Linked DNA regions of Homo sapiens: all the other regions are linked to region 3. The links are contacts of gene promoters, found by promoter capture Hi-C in human tissues and cell types (Jung and others, 2019). All regions are on one chromosome and are shown on one strand. The core of a region is centred on a gene start or on the middle of the fragment in contact, and the rest is flanking DNA. Distances in the headings are between cores, read along the strand shown.

Region 1 (4,650 bases), core at 251-2,750, 630 kb after region 3:
TGTCTGGGTTCTTGGTGCTTTGAACAAAGAATTGGACAAAATACACAAAGCAAGAATGAAGCAACAAAAACAGATTTATTGAAACAAAAAATCACACTCCATAGGGTGGGAGCAGCTAGAGCAAGCAGCTGAAGGGCTTGGTTACAGAATTTTCTGGGGTTTAAATACCCTCTGGAGGTTTCCCATTGGTTACTTGGTATACACCCTAGGTAAATGCAACCAGAGACTGAAGTTGCCAAGTTACACCCTATGCAAATGTCTGATTGGTTGCGAAAAGTGACCAATCAGAGGCTGAAGTTACAAAGTTATACTTCTATGCAAATGAAGACTTGGCCCTTGACCAGCCTGATTGGTTCCAGGAGGGGACCAATCAGAGGTACTTTCAGTTTTTCATCTGCCAGGCAGAAAACAGGGTGGGGTAGCAGGGAGGAGAGGCTTGCAAAGGGAGTAGCCTCTGATCATTTGTTACTTGGGTGTGGAAAGTTGGGGTTCACCCAGGCTGGAGTACAGTGGTACCATCTCAGCTCACTGCAACTGCGGTTTTCCTTTTGATTTAGTTCTAGGAAGTCAGTGTGAATCTGCCTTAGGTTCTCTACCTCCAAACCCTATTCTCCTGCCTCAGAGGCAGGTGAGAGAGGCCAGGGAGACCAGGAGCACTGGCCTAAATTGCTGACCTGCAGAATTGTAATCTAAATAAATGCTTGTTGTTTTAAGCCACTAAACTTTGAGGTGATTTTGTATGTACCAGTAGCTAATCAATTCAGTTGCATTGTTAGATCAGCAGCTCAACTGGCATTTGAAATCTGGTCTCACCAACTCCAAGGCTCATGTTCGTCCCAAGACAGGCTGTTCCCCCTACAGGCCTACTTCTAGGCAAATTATTTATTTCCTAATTAAAATAACCAAGCTTGTGTATGTTAGGCCAAAACCCAGTCTCCCTTCTTCTGGACTGGTCCTAAACTAATTAGTTGGGTTTCTCTTCTCCTGTCCTTCCTTCCTTCTCTCTCTCTCTCTCTCTCTTCCAGCTTGCTCTGTTGCCCAGGCTAGAGTGCTGTGGTGCAATCTTGGCTCACTGCAACCTCTACCTCCTGGGTTCAAGCAATTCTTTGGCCCCAAGCCACCCAAGTATCTGAGATTACAGGCGTCCACGACCATGCATGCTAAATTTTTGTATTTTTAGTAGAGACAGGGTTTCATGATGTTGGCCAGGATGGTCTTGATCTCCTGACCTCCAGCAATCCACTGCCTTGGCCTCCCAAAGTGTTGGGACTAGAGGCATGAGCCACCCTGTCTAGCCGGGTTTATCTTAAAGGCCATGGGTAAAAGATTGAGAACTTTCATGTCCTGGAATTCTTTCAAAACATTGGACATAGATCTATCTCAGGAGTGTCACACTGTGTCCAGAATTGGTGGGTTCTCGGTCTCACTGACTTCAAGAATGAAGCCTCAAACCCTTGCAGTGAGTGTTACAGTTCTTAAAGGTGGTGTGTCCAGAGTTTGTTCCTTCAGATGTGTCTGAAGTTTCTTCCTTCTGGCAGGTTCGTGATCTCGCTAGCTTCATGAGCGAAGCTGCAGACCTTCACAGTGAGTGTTACAGCTCTCAAAAGCAGCACAGACCCAAAGACGGAGCAGCACCAACATTTATTGCAAAGAGCAAAAGAACAAAGCACCCCCGCCACACAGAAGAGTACCTGATCAGGTTGCTGCTGCTGGCATTGGTGGCCTGCGTTTATTCCCTTATCTGGCCCCACCCACATCCTGCTGATTGGTCCATTTTGCAGAGAGCTGATTGGTCCATTTTACAGAGAGCTGATTGGTCCGTTTTGACAGAGTGCTGATTGGTGCGTTTACAAACCTTTAGCTAGACAGAGAGTGCTGATTGGTGCGTTTACAATCCTTTAGCTAGACAGAAAAGTTCTCCCAGTCCCCAATATCCCAGAAGCCTAGCCGGCTTCACTTGTCACTGGCACTGGCTGCGGGATTTTGGGGCACCTAGCCGGGCACTCCGGCAGCCCAGAGGGAGCTCGTCCCCCAGTCAAGCCCAGCAGGCGCCGGCCCGCCGCGCAGAGTGCGGGACTTGCGGAGCCCGCGCGCAGCCCCAGCTCCCGCCGGCGCCTCTCTTTTCACACTTCCCAGTGAGCAGAGGGAGCCGGCTCCGGCCTCGGCCAGCCCCAGAGAGGGGCCCTCACAGCGCAGCGGCGGGCTGAAGGGCTCCTCGAGCGCGGCCAGAGCGGACGCAGAGGCCGAGGAGGCGCCGAGAGCCAGCGAGGGCTGCTAGCAGGTTGTCACCTCTCAACACCAAGATAGTTGTATCCGTGGTTAAACTCTGTAGGCATACACTCTGCTTTTCTTGGGGACAAGGTTACCCGCCTCCCACTTTTACAGGGACATTGGCTTTGGTGACAGCCAATTGCAACTTTTTTCTTCTCATTGGGAAGTACTGAGAGTGGGTTTCCTTTAGTCTCTAGTGGGAATATTATAAAGCGCTGGTATACAAAGAGCCCTCAGACAATAAAAAAGTTAACAAAATACATTATATAAATAAATATAAACTAAAAAGATTCTGAAGAACATTTTATGTTTTCTGTACCTGTTGTTGCTGATATAAATTATCTCCTGGGACTGAACTTCGAATTGTCAATTGTCTAAATCTCCCATTGTACTGAGACACATCCAGTGGTCTATAAATTTTATCTTGGGCTGGGCGTGGTGGCTCATGCCTGTAATCCCAGCACTCTGGGAGGCCAAGGCCGGAGGATTTCTTGAGGCCAGGAGTTCGAGACCAGCCTGGGCAATATAGTGACACCTTGTCTCTACAGAAACCTTAAAAAATTAGCGGAGCATGGTGGTGTACACCTGTGGTCCCAGCTACTCGGGAGACTTAGGTGGGAGGATCACTTGAGCCTGGGAGGCAGAGGTTGCAAGAGCTGAGATTGCTCCACTGCACTCCAGTCTGAGTGATGGAGCGAGACCTTGTCTCAAAAAAAAAATTTTTTTAAATCTTTTCTTTCCTTCCTTCCTTCCTTCCTTCCTTCCTTCCTTCCTTCCTTCCTTCCTTCGTTTTTTCTTTTTTTTAAACAGTCTTGCTCTGTCACCCAGGCTGTAGTGCAATGGTGCCATCTCGACTCACTGCAACCTCCGCCTCCCGAGTTCAAGCAGTTCTTGTGCCTCAGCCTCCCCAGTAGCTGGGATTACAGGCATGAGCCACCGTGCCCGGCCATTTTTTCCCCCCAGTCTTGTAGAGATCTCTCCTGGAGTTTTCTATCTACTCCAAAACGGATTGGTTACCCTGTTGGCCTAGTTCCAGAGGTAGATTTCCCATGAAACTAGTAAAGCTTAAGCTTCAGGGGCCCTCACTGGCTTCAGCAATGAATTCATATGGTCATAAGTTACATAAAATTTGCAAAATAAGATATTTTAACTGTGATTGGCTAAACTGCTGTCTCTTTCCTGTCTAGCTTTTCCTCAGTCGCATTTCCTCTCACATTGCTGTTTCGGGATCAGACCAATGGGAAATAAATAGGAGATCTTAGCATGGGTTTAGTTAGATTATTTATGTAGTTCACAGTCACAGCTATGTAAAGTTGGGTTATTGTCAGCCATTCCAGTAGGAATTGCTTCCAGAAATATTCACACCTCTTACTGTCGTAATTCACCCTGGGTGCAAGGGTGAATATGCACCACAGAGGTGCGCCTGTAGTCCCAGCTACTATGGAGGCTAAGGTGGGAAGATGGCTTGAGCCCAGTTGAGATCGTGCCACTGCACTTGAGCCTGGGCAGTATAGCCAGACCCTGTCTCAACAACAACAACAACAAAACATTTTGCTATACTTTTTTTTTTTTTGAGACAGGGTCTGGCTCTGTTGCCCAGGTGGGAGTGCAGTGGCACCATCTCGGCTCACTGCAACCTCCACCTCCTGGGCTCAAGCCATCCTCCCACGTCAGCCTCCCAAGTAGCTGGGACTACTGGTGCATGCCAGCACATCCGGCTAATGTTTGTATTTTTAGTAGAGATGGAGTCTCACCATGCTGCCCAGGCTGGTCTCAAACTCCTGAGCTCGAGCAGTCCATCTGCCTCGGCCTTACAGGTGTGAGCCACCATGCCCCGCCAGCAAAATGTTAAGTGTAGAATTTAGATGACAGGTATATGGTGTTCACTGTAAAGTTCTTTTAACTTTTGTATAGGTTTGAACATTTTCATGAAACACTGTTGGAGGACAAGTATATAGCTGAAAAATAAAGGAAAAAAGTATTATAGACAGGGATCAAGCAGTTAATTCATTTAAAAATTCTATCTTTTGGCCAGGCGCGGTGGCTCACGCCTGTAATCCCAGCACTTTGGGAGGCCAAAGTGGGCGGATCACCTGAGGTCAGGAGTTCAAGACCAGCCTGGCCAACATGGAGAAACCCCGTCTCTACTAAAAATACAAAAAATTAGCTGGGCGTGTAATCCCAGCTACTCGGGAGGCTGAGCTAGGAGAATTGCTTGAACCCAGGAGGCAGAGGTTGCAGTGAGCTGAGATCACGCCATTGTACTCTAGCCTGGGCAACAAGAGCAAAACTCTGTCTCGAAAAAAAAAAAATTATTTTTCTAGATTTTGTGATGTCTGTGGTATTTTTGTTAGCTTTTAAAATTTTTGTTGTGATTTC
Region 2 (4,688 bases), core at 1,684-4,183, 530 kb after region 3:
TAATTTTTTTTTTTAACTAAAAGAATCTCCAAACGAGTTCTCTATTACTTTAAATTAGAAGGGAAACATGTACTTAAATAAGTACAAACTTATTTAAGTTTGAACTCTATGACTTCATCAAAAACTAAATAAAAGCTTTATGTTTAAGTTTTATTTAATGCTGTTTATTGAAAAACCATTTTAAGAGGAGACTGCTAAAAGGCAGATTTTTTTTTTTTTTTTGAGATACGGTCTCACTCCCATCATCCAAGCTGGAATGCAGTGGTGCAATCATAGCTCACTGCAGTCTTGACCTCCTGGGCTCAAGTGATCCTCCTATCTCAGCCTCCTGAGTAGCTGGGACGAGAAGTGCATGACACCATGCCTGGCTAATTTTTGTATTTTTAGTAGACATGGGATTTCAACATGTTGGCCAGGCTGATCTCGAACTCCTGAGCTCAAGCGATCTGCCCGCCTCAGCCTCCCAAAGTGCTGGGATTACATGCCCCACCAAAAAGGCAAAATTTAATTACCTAGGAATGATTAGAAAAGCTCCATGAATCTCTATGAAAAAGTGTTAAATAATACCAATTCTGAAATGTGCATAAAATGGATTAACTGATTATAATACAGGTTGAAAATTTGTTTTAAAAAACTATACCCATATACGTAAAGGTATGTATTATATAGATCGTATATACATATGTACAAAACGCTAGGGGGTAACTCCAAAATGTTAGGTGAGGGTATTTTAAGTAATTTCTACTTTCTTCTTTATATTTTATATTTTCCAAATCCCCTACAATAAAAATGTATCATTTTTCAATCTGCAAAAGCAGTAAAAAAGTTGTTTAGGAAAAAAAAATTCAAGCCAGATACAGTGGTGCATGCCTGTAATCTCATCTACTCAAGAGGCTGAGGTGGGAGAATTGCTTGAGCCCAGGAGTTTGAGGTTGCAATGCTCTATAATGGCATTGTGAATAGCCACCAAACTCTAGCCTGGGCAACATGGTGAAACCTCATCTCTTAAGAAAAACAATGCAATCCTTCCCTGCTACATTTTTAATTTTCCCAATTACCTTGGACTGTTCTGCCCTTGAAAAGTGATAGAAATACAAGTTGAACTCTTTGGCACATTCTGGTTTCAGTTCATACATGCCTCGTCCTGTTAATCCAGGTTTCCTGTGAAAGAAAGGACCTTAGAATATTATTACCAAAGCCATACACTAATTTATGAGAGATAGTCTTGGATATTAGAACAAGAAAGCAGAGCTCTCATATACTGCTGGTGGGTGTTAAGCTACAACTATTTTCAGTGGGTTGATTTGGCAGTCTAAATCCGAGTTCTACATGCATCTGTTTTATTTAGCATGCCCACTTGGAATTTATCCTAACTAGACAAGTGAACGTGATGGACACTGCAGTGGCAACAATTAAAAAGTCTAATAACGTGAAATAACAAATTACAACATCTCCAAACAACTGAACACCATTAACAGTGATAATTTCTCTATTTTCACATGTAAAGACTTCCGTGTTGTTCTATTAAGCAGAAAAAAGCAGGTACACTATTGGGGTTTAGAGAACTTTCCTAAGCAAGTTATAAAACCCAGAAGCCAATTGAGACAGAGTTTTAAAAACAGAAAGTTAAAAAACAAGGGAGACTGGAAGAAAGTACTGTGATGTATTAAATAAGAATTGACATTTCTAATATATAATACTTTCGGAACAATAAGATAGGGACAAACAACCATAAAGAAAAATGCATTAAAGTATGAAAAAATAAACGGCCAATAAACACATGAAAAGAAGCTCAACTTCACTTAGAGTAACGCAAATTAAAATAAGGTACTAAAAGACTGCTCATATTAAAGTGTTGACAAAGTTGCAGGGCACTCTTTATACACTTCTAGTCAGAGTGTAAATCGAGGACTTTTTTGGGAAGGCAATTAGGAGGTATGTACCAAAATGTAATACAAGCTTTCATTTTGATCTAGCTAATCCTCAAAGAAACACTTTCACAGTCAAAGATACATTTGTTAATGCTGTATGTACAAGGATTTTCAATATTTGTTTATAAGAGAAAATCTGGAAGCTATGTATTATAGGGAAGAGGTTAGATACATTACAGTACATGACTACAAGGAAGTGAAAAAGGGCCTGGCACCATAGCTCATGCCAGTAATCTCAGCACTTTGAGAGGCCGAGGCGGGCTGGATCATCTGAAGTTAGGAGTTTGAGACCAGCCTGGTCAACATGGTGAAACCCCATGTCTACTAAAAATACAAAAATTAGCCAGGTGTGGTGGCGGGCGCCTGTAATCCCAGCTACTTGGGAGGCTGAGGCAGGAGAATTGCTTGGACCTAGGAGGCGGAGGTTGCAGTGAGCCAAGACCGTGCCACTGCACTTGAGTCTCGCTTTGTTACCCAGGCTGAAGTGAAAAAGGATGAAGTATGCCTATATGTACTGACAAAGTATATTATGTAAAAACTAAAAAAACCCAATAAAACCAACAACCCGCCCCCCCAAAGACACAAATACATGGAAACATTCCATTATTTAATTTTTAAAAAGGTTATAGAATAGTAAATACGAAATGAACCCATTTTTTGTTATAAATATGTGTTCCAAGTATAGAAAAAAAATTTAGAAAGATATACATCTAAACATAATAGAAATCATCTGAGTGGTTGGATTACAGGTAATATTTTTTCTTTGTATTTTTCCTAAAAGCAAGTATTGTCTTTATAACCAACAAAAAATAAAGACACTATCTTCAAAAATTTATAGTGGGTTAAAAAAAATGAATACATTGTCATTGGGGTAGGAAGCAAAGAAAAAACAGGCTTAAGAAACTGCTTTAATATCTTTAAGGGTATAAACCAGTTTATTGACTGGGGGAAGACTGTGGACACTGGAGAAGGTGGCATTGAGAGGCTATCCCACAATTTAGGCAGCACATTCAAATGGAAACAAAACAGTTTTAAGAAATTACAATGCATTTACTTAGATCACTGCTGAGGTTAATTTTTACTATTTGAAACCATCAGCTATGAACACCTATTCTGAATGTGACGAAAACCCTCACAATGTCACTTTACGTTGCTGAGTACAGGGTGAGATCAGAAAAGTGAAATGTCAGTGAGAAATCTAATTCAGAGCTATAATTTGAAAATGTCTGTCAATCTCTGAAAGCTGCAACTTCATTCTCAGTTGCATCAAAGAAAACACTCTAAGAAAAATGAATGTACTGGAAAAGTAAAAAAGAATGTGAAATAATAGGAAGTAAACTCACTTGAAATGGGCAACTGCTTCGATTACACTCTCCATGCCAGTCTCCTTGTTCTCCTAAAGGTACAGGACACAAGTGTGTTTCATGTTAATAATAACTACTAGCACTCTTAGCATTGTGTTTTATCTCATTGACCCTCATAACAACCTAAGGTAGATACACCTTATCTCCATTTTTACAGATGAGGATTCCATAGCAAATACAATGATTAATACAAAACTAGACATACTTACTCGGCAAGCTGATGTTTATTCAAATTGATGTATTATTTTTAAATACATAAAATAGATAAAACTTTATGATTTTTAAAAAGTCACTGCCATATAGAATCAAGGTAAGAGCTTTCTAAAGGAATTAAATGAAAACACAAAGTATATAAAACATTTAAAAAAGTTTATGTAAAATACGTCTGGTATTTTATAAAATAGTTGCACTAATTTCTTGTCTATTTTCAGTACAACAGCACTTCCCCAATCATATCTCATTCACGATAAGATATTAATAGGAATTCTGTGAATAAATAATTCTTTAAAATGTTTGGGAAATACAGTTACAATCACTTTATTTTTTATTTTTTTGAGACAGAGTCTCACATTGTTACCCAGGCTGGAGTGCAATGGCATGATCTTGGCTCACTGCAACCTCCACCTTCCAGGTCCAAGCAATTCTCCTGCCTCAGCCTACCAAGTAGCTGGGATTACAGGCGCCTGCCACCACACCTGGCTAATTTTTTTTTTTTTTTTTTTTTTTTTTTTTAGTAGCGATGGGGTTTAACTGTGTTGGCCAGGCTGGTCTTAAACTCCTGACTTCCTGATCCGCCCACCTTGGTCTCCCAAAGTGTTGGGATTACAGGCGTGAGCCACTGTGCCCGGCCGACAATCTTAAACCACTTAAAAAATGCTTTTTGAAATTTTATTGTTCCTTAAAGCTTAGGCTAAATTATAACTGCTTCCTAATTGAACAACTTGGGATTCACTTCCTGCATTAAAGCAGTACAAGTAATTTTTATCTTGACTAGATATTTAGTGACATTAAGGAATTATTCATCATTCGGCCAGGTGTGGTGGCTTATGCCTGTAATCCCAGCACTTTGGGAGGCTGAGGTGGGCAGATCACTTGAGGCCAGGAGTTCGAGACCAGCCTGGACAACATAGAGAACCCCCATCTCTACTAAAAACACAAAAATTAGCCGGGCATGGTGGCGTGCGCCTGTAATCCCAGCTACTTGGGAGGCTGAGGCATGAGAATTGCTTGAACTCGGGAGGCAGAGGTTATAGTAAGCCAAGACCATGCCATTGTACTCCAGCCTGGGTGACCAAGCCAGACTCTATCTCTCTCTCTCTCTCTCTCTCTATATATATATATAAACATATATATATAAATTATTGTTTTTAAAAGTGTGATAACATAAAGATAG
Region 3 (4,338 bases), core at 655-3,154:
AGTGAAGACAGAGAGGGGATGAAGAAGGGGTTTAAGAAATGGAAGAGTTGGCTGCGCCCAGTGGCTCACGCCTGTAATCCCAGCACTTTAGGAGGCCAAGGTGGGCAGATCACGAGGTCAGGAATTCAAGTCCAGCCTGGTCAACATAGTGAAACCCCGTCTCTACTAAAAATACAAAAATTAGCCAGGTGTGGTGGCACATGCCCGTAGTCCCAGCTACTCAGGAGGCTGAGGCAGGAGAATCACTTGAACCCAGGAGGCGGAGGTTGCAGTGAGCCAAGACCGCGCCACTGTACTCCAGCCTGGGCAACAGAGTGAGATTCTGTCAAAAAAAAGAAAAAAAGAAAGAAAGAGAGAGAGAGGAAGGAAGGAAGGAAGGAAGGAAGGAAGGAAGAAAGGAAGGAAGGGGAGTTTACAAAAAGAGAATTAAAACAGTAATAGGCAAAGTAACAATAAACAGAGTGACAGTTAAGCAAGACAGTTTAGGCAGGATAGCAGGGTGGCTGAGGGTTACAGATTAGGACTTAGAAGAATGACATGGGTGGACAGGAAGGACAGCAGCATGTGAGGCAGTGGGATCAGAACATGTGAGGAAAAGTAGGATAGCGGAGGGGCAGGACAGGGAGCATAAATGACAGAGTAAAGCTGCAAGGTGGATGTAAAGGGTGGGCCATGGCAGATATAGAGAATGGAGATGACAAAAGGCTGGGATGTTGGGGCAAATGACTGGATAGGAAAAGTATATTCGAGTCTTGTGAAAGGGGGAGGGCCCTAGGGACCAGATAAAATTATGGGAAAGATGACCAGGTCCCACCCTGCCCTTATACTGCATGTATGGTAAGGATTTAAGTAAGTTAAGTAGATAAGATAGAGGTGGTAATCATGGGGTTAAAGGTAGGAAATGAGGTCAGGAGAGAAGCAATATTCAGAGACTTCAGTATCAGATAAATGTGACTCTGAATTCTGGCTTTCTGTCTCACTGTCTGCATAGTTTGGAACAAGTTACTTAACCTCTGAGCTTGTTTCCTCTTCTGCAAGATGGTAGTAATATTCATAGTTACTTCATGAATTTAGTAGGATCATGTATGTAAAGCACTTGGAACAGCATCTAGCACATAAAGAGTGTTCAGTAAACATAATCTGTTATTATTCTTAGATGGAGAAGGTAGGGGAGTCATCAAATAAATGCAAAGTTATTAAGACCGATTATAAATGGGAGTGGAATAATCAGGAAAGATATGCGTGATATGAAGCAGTGCAGGGGCAACAGGGAATAGTGAGAATAAGAATGGAAGAAGGTAAACCCAGATGAAGATATAGTGGTCAGGGCAGGGGTCATGTTGGGGTACAGGGACAGAAGATGAGAGTAGAGGTGAAGAGGAGGGAGAAAGATGGATGTGGACCTCAATGGAGGTAGGGGTCCACTTAGGATGGGGGGCAAGCCTGGATGGTAGCCAGCGATGTGCCAGCGGGCAACTGATTAGCAGCAGGGGGAAGTAAAAGAATCGGATAGGAGGAGGTAGGAGGTGTAACGTCGGCCTAGAAGAGCAACAATAAACTGAGGTGTGGGGGTGAGCTCTGGACGCATGGATGAGACCAGCAGATAGCAAGGTCAAGCCCAAGCTTGCAGAGCCGTGGGGAGGTGGAGGAGGCCAGCACCGCAGAGGGAACGGGTTTGGGGGGAGGGGGAAGGATGGTTGGGGGCGCGGTCCAAAAAAGCTGAAAAGATCCAGTGAATCTCAGAGAGCAAGACCTGGTTCCCTTCGTCAGCCCCATGGACAGTGGCTAAAGGACCGGGGAGGGGACAGGAGAAGGGGAGGGATTGGGTCGGCGCAGAACTCTCCTCTCACCTCCCACCGCCCGGCTCAGCCCTCGCTGGGACCCAGCGGCCGGTCCCGCCGTCCTGGCCCCGCCTCCTCAGAGCTCCCTTCCGGGTCACACGGCGAGTGCACGCACGGCCGGGCACCTACGGGTCCCACCGCGGCCCACGCCGAGCGTGGCGGAACAGCGCGCGAGTGGAGCATGCGTGCTACCGCGGGCGGCTGCACTGGAAGAGGGGCGTGGGGGCGCGCTACCGGAGGAGCCTGGGATCGAGGTCACGTTGCTCCTCTCTCAGCAGCAGGAAGAAGCCGTTTCCATCCAGTCAACTGTGAAGCCCCCTCCTCTTCACTGGGTCGGCCCTCCTAATCCTCCCTCTCCCATCACAGCGATCATGCTGACGAAACATGGTAACCCACATTCCCACCTTAAGGCTGCCCTTTTTGACTTTTCAGTAGGTCAGGTGCCCATGAGTTTCCCAAACCCTTCAGCAATGCTTTGGATTAGTTGTGTCACTTTTCCTGTTAATTAAAATTTGCTCCTCTGCGTTGGCCTTAACACCTAGCGAAGCCACGCACAGGGAGAAGGTCCTCGGCCCCGCAAAACTTTCCTTAAATTAAATCGTATAGAATTAAACAGCCCAAAGCACACCTTAGCATTACCGTTCTCATCAAGCAGCCCGGATCGCTACTCAGAGCAGCAATTTTAGGAGTTTGCCTCGCGTTCATACCCCCATCCCTCCCTAAGTAGAAAAACAGAACCAAAGACCCCACAGTCTGTGCACAAAAATGATACATTTATTGAAAGAGTATTTTTTTTTAATACAAAAGAAAGCTCTGTACATAGGACTGTGACCATGTCCACTATTCCTGGGTCAGCATCCCAGGGGAAGTAGAAACCACTGACATACACACTCACATTCAAGCACACACACTCACTCAGGCGCACACACCCACACACACATACCCCAGAGCCACCGAGGAAGGGAAACACCAAGGGTCGCTGCACATAAAAATATCACCTCAACTCATCCCTGACACACGCATGTCCTCCCAAGGCCACGCTCACACAACACACATTATAAGCACTTTGCCTGATTCACTCACTGGGTCTGTCTTTTGTGGGAAGGAGAGGAAGAATTCATCAAAGGTCTCCTCCCCATGGGTGGGGGAGTGGGGAGTGAGTGAGTGATGGTGGAGTGAAACAAGAGCAGAGAAAAGGGGCTGGGCAGTTACAGACCTGAGTCCCAAGCTCCCCTGCTCTCTGGCCCCTGATTTGCCATGCCCCAGCCTTGAAAGCCACCCATAAGCCCCAGCTATCTCCAGGAGAAAGCCCAGAAAGGTGACTTCCATCTTGGCACCCCAAACTGGGGCAAGACAGCAATGAGGGTTAGAGGTTAGGGGGTTCTCAAACATGTCGGCAAATCATCCCCTTGATAACTAGGCTGTGCATAAAATCTTCCCCCATCCCTTCACCTAATCACAGAAGCCAGCTTGTTCCTACTGAAGGCAGTCTTAGGGGTTAAGAAAATTTCACCCCACTGCTGCCCTGTTTCTGAAAAAGCTCCCCTTCTGGATATAGGTGGTGAAGGTAGGCTCTGACACAGGGTAAAAGACCCTCCCCCCTATGCTGGCCCACCCTCAAGGTCTACCCCAAAGGGGGAGGAGGGGGGTGGGGCATGGCCCCTGTACAAATTACATAAATACTGAGGTTACACTTAGAAAAATAAAGTCATTTTCTTCAAGGCTTTTTGTCTTAATTTAAAAAAGTTACAGTAGCTGCTCACTCCCTGGGAGAACTGCCCATTTCTGGCTCCCCTTTGGCTGCACTCAGCCCAAGAAGCTGCTCCCACTTCTTCTGACCCCCATTCCTGCCTCTCACCCCCTCCCAGACCCCACCCTGCTCACTGCAACTTGGGCCCCAGGCAGCTGCATGCCTGGGACAGCGCAAGGCTGCAATGCCCATGCGTGTGGCACAAATGAAGTCAGTTGCCTCTGCCTGACGCCCTCCCACCCCAACCCCGACATTTGGTCTCCCTCTTCCCTCTCCCTAGCAACAGCCCTAAAGGGCAAAAAGAGGCCCAGAGCTGTGGGTCACCCTCCCCACCCCGTTGGGGAATGGCCTGAGGGCCCCTCCCCCGGCTTTCTCCTGGAAACAACCCAGGACTGGGCAAACCCAGAATCTCCCCCACACACTGGTGGACCCCGAGCTCATGGGGTGGCTCTGTCCCCAGGGGCCCAGCCAGTTCTGGGGAGCCTGAGGGCTCCCCAGGGAAGGGGAGTTTGGGCAGGGAGGGGGACGAGAAAAACGCCATAAAAAAAAGTTAAATATTTTAAAAATATATATTTATAGATTTGTTTTCACTTCGTCTCCTCAAATAAAAAGTTCAAAATCAACTTTAAGTAAAGCAGCTGGGAGGAGAGGGGGGAAGACAAGGGGGAGAAGGGAACGCTGGTGGTTCCCTCCAACCCAGGAGCCCCTGGAGGTCCAAGGGGAGCGGCAAGGCAGGGCAGGCGGCCC

What was found. The method cuts DNA at HindIII sites, captures the fragments that hold promoters and counts their contacts. A contact is called where the count stands out against the background at its distance.
Region 1: a contact is called between a fragment that was not itself captured here and the fragment with the promoter of CUL9 in region 3, in 1 of the 25 tissues and cell types used here (spleen).
Region 2: a contact is called between a fragment that was not itself captured here and the fragment with the promoter of CUL9 in region 3, in 1 of the 25 tissues and cell types used here (mesenchymal stem cells).

What each region holds. Positions count from the first base shown.
Region 1 is chr6:42,551,701-42,556,350 of GRCh38, reverse strand. No RefSeq gene overlaps it. Among named protein-coding and RNA genes, the nearest start is that of UBR2, 10 kb to the left of the region's middle. The HindIII fragment of the contact is 6,616 bases long and covers 1-4,650 here.
Region 2 is chr6:42,646,757-42,651,444 of GRCh38, reverse strand. UBR2 (ubiquitin protein ligase E3 component n-recognin 2) reads right to left here. Exons shown (of 47, transcript NM_001363705.2): 22 at 3,275-3,327; 23 at 1,059-1,161. Among named protein-coding and RNA genes, the nearest start is that of PRPH2, 73 kb to the left of the region's middle. The HindIII fragment of the contact is 3,772 bases long and covers 1,048-4,688 here.
Region 3 is chr6:43,179,762-43,184,099 of GRCh38, reverse strand. It overlaps CUL9 (cullin 9), which reads right to left and starts at 1,904. Exons shown (of 41, transcript NM_015089.4): 1 at 1,851-1,904. SRF (serum response factor) reads right to left here. Exons shown (of 7, transcript NM_003131.4): 7 at 2,594-4,338. RefSeq lists silencers at 1,704-1,753, 1,774-1,913 and an enhancer at 2,164-2,233. The HindIII fragment of the contact is 4,480 bases long and covers 559-4,338 here.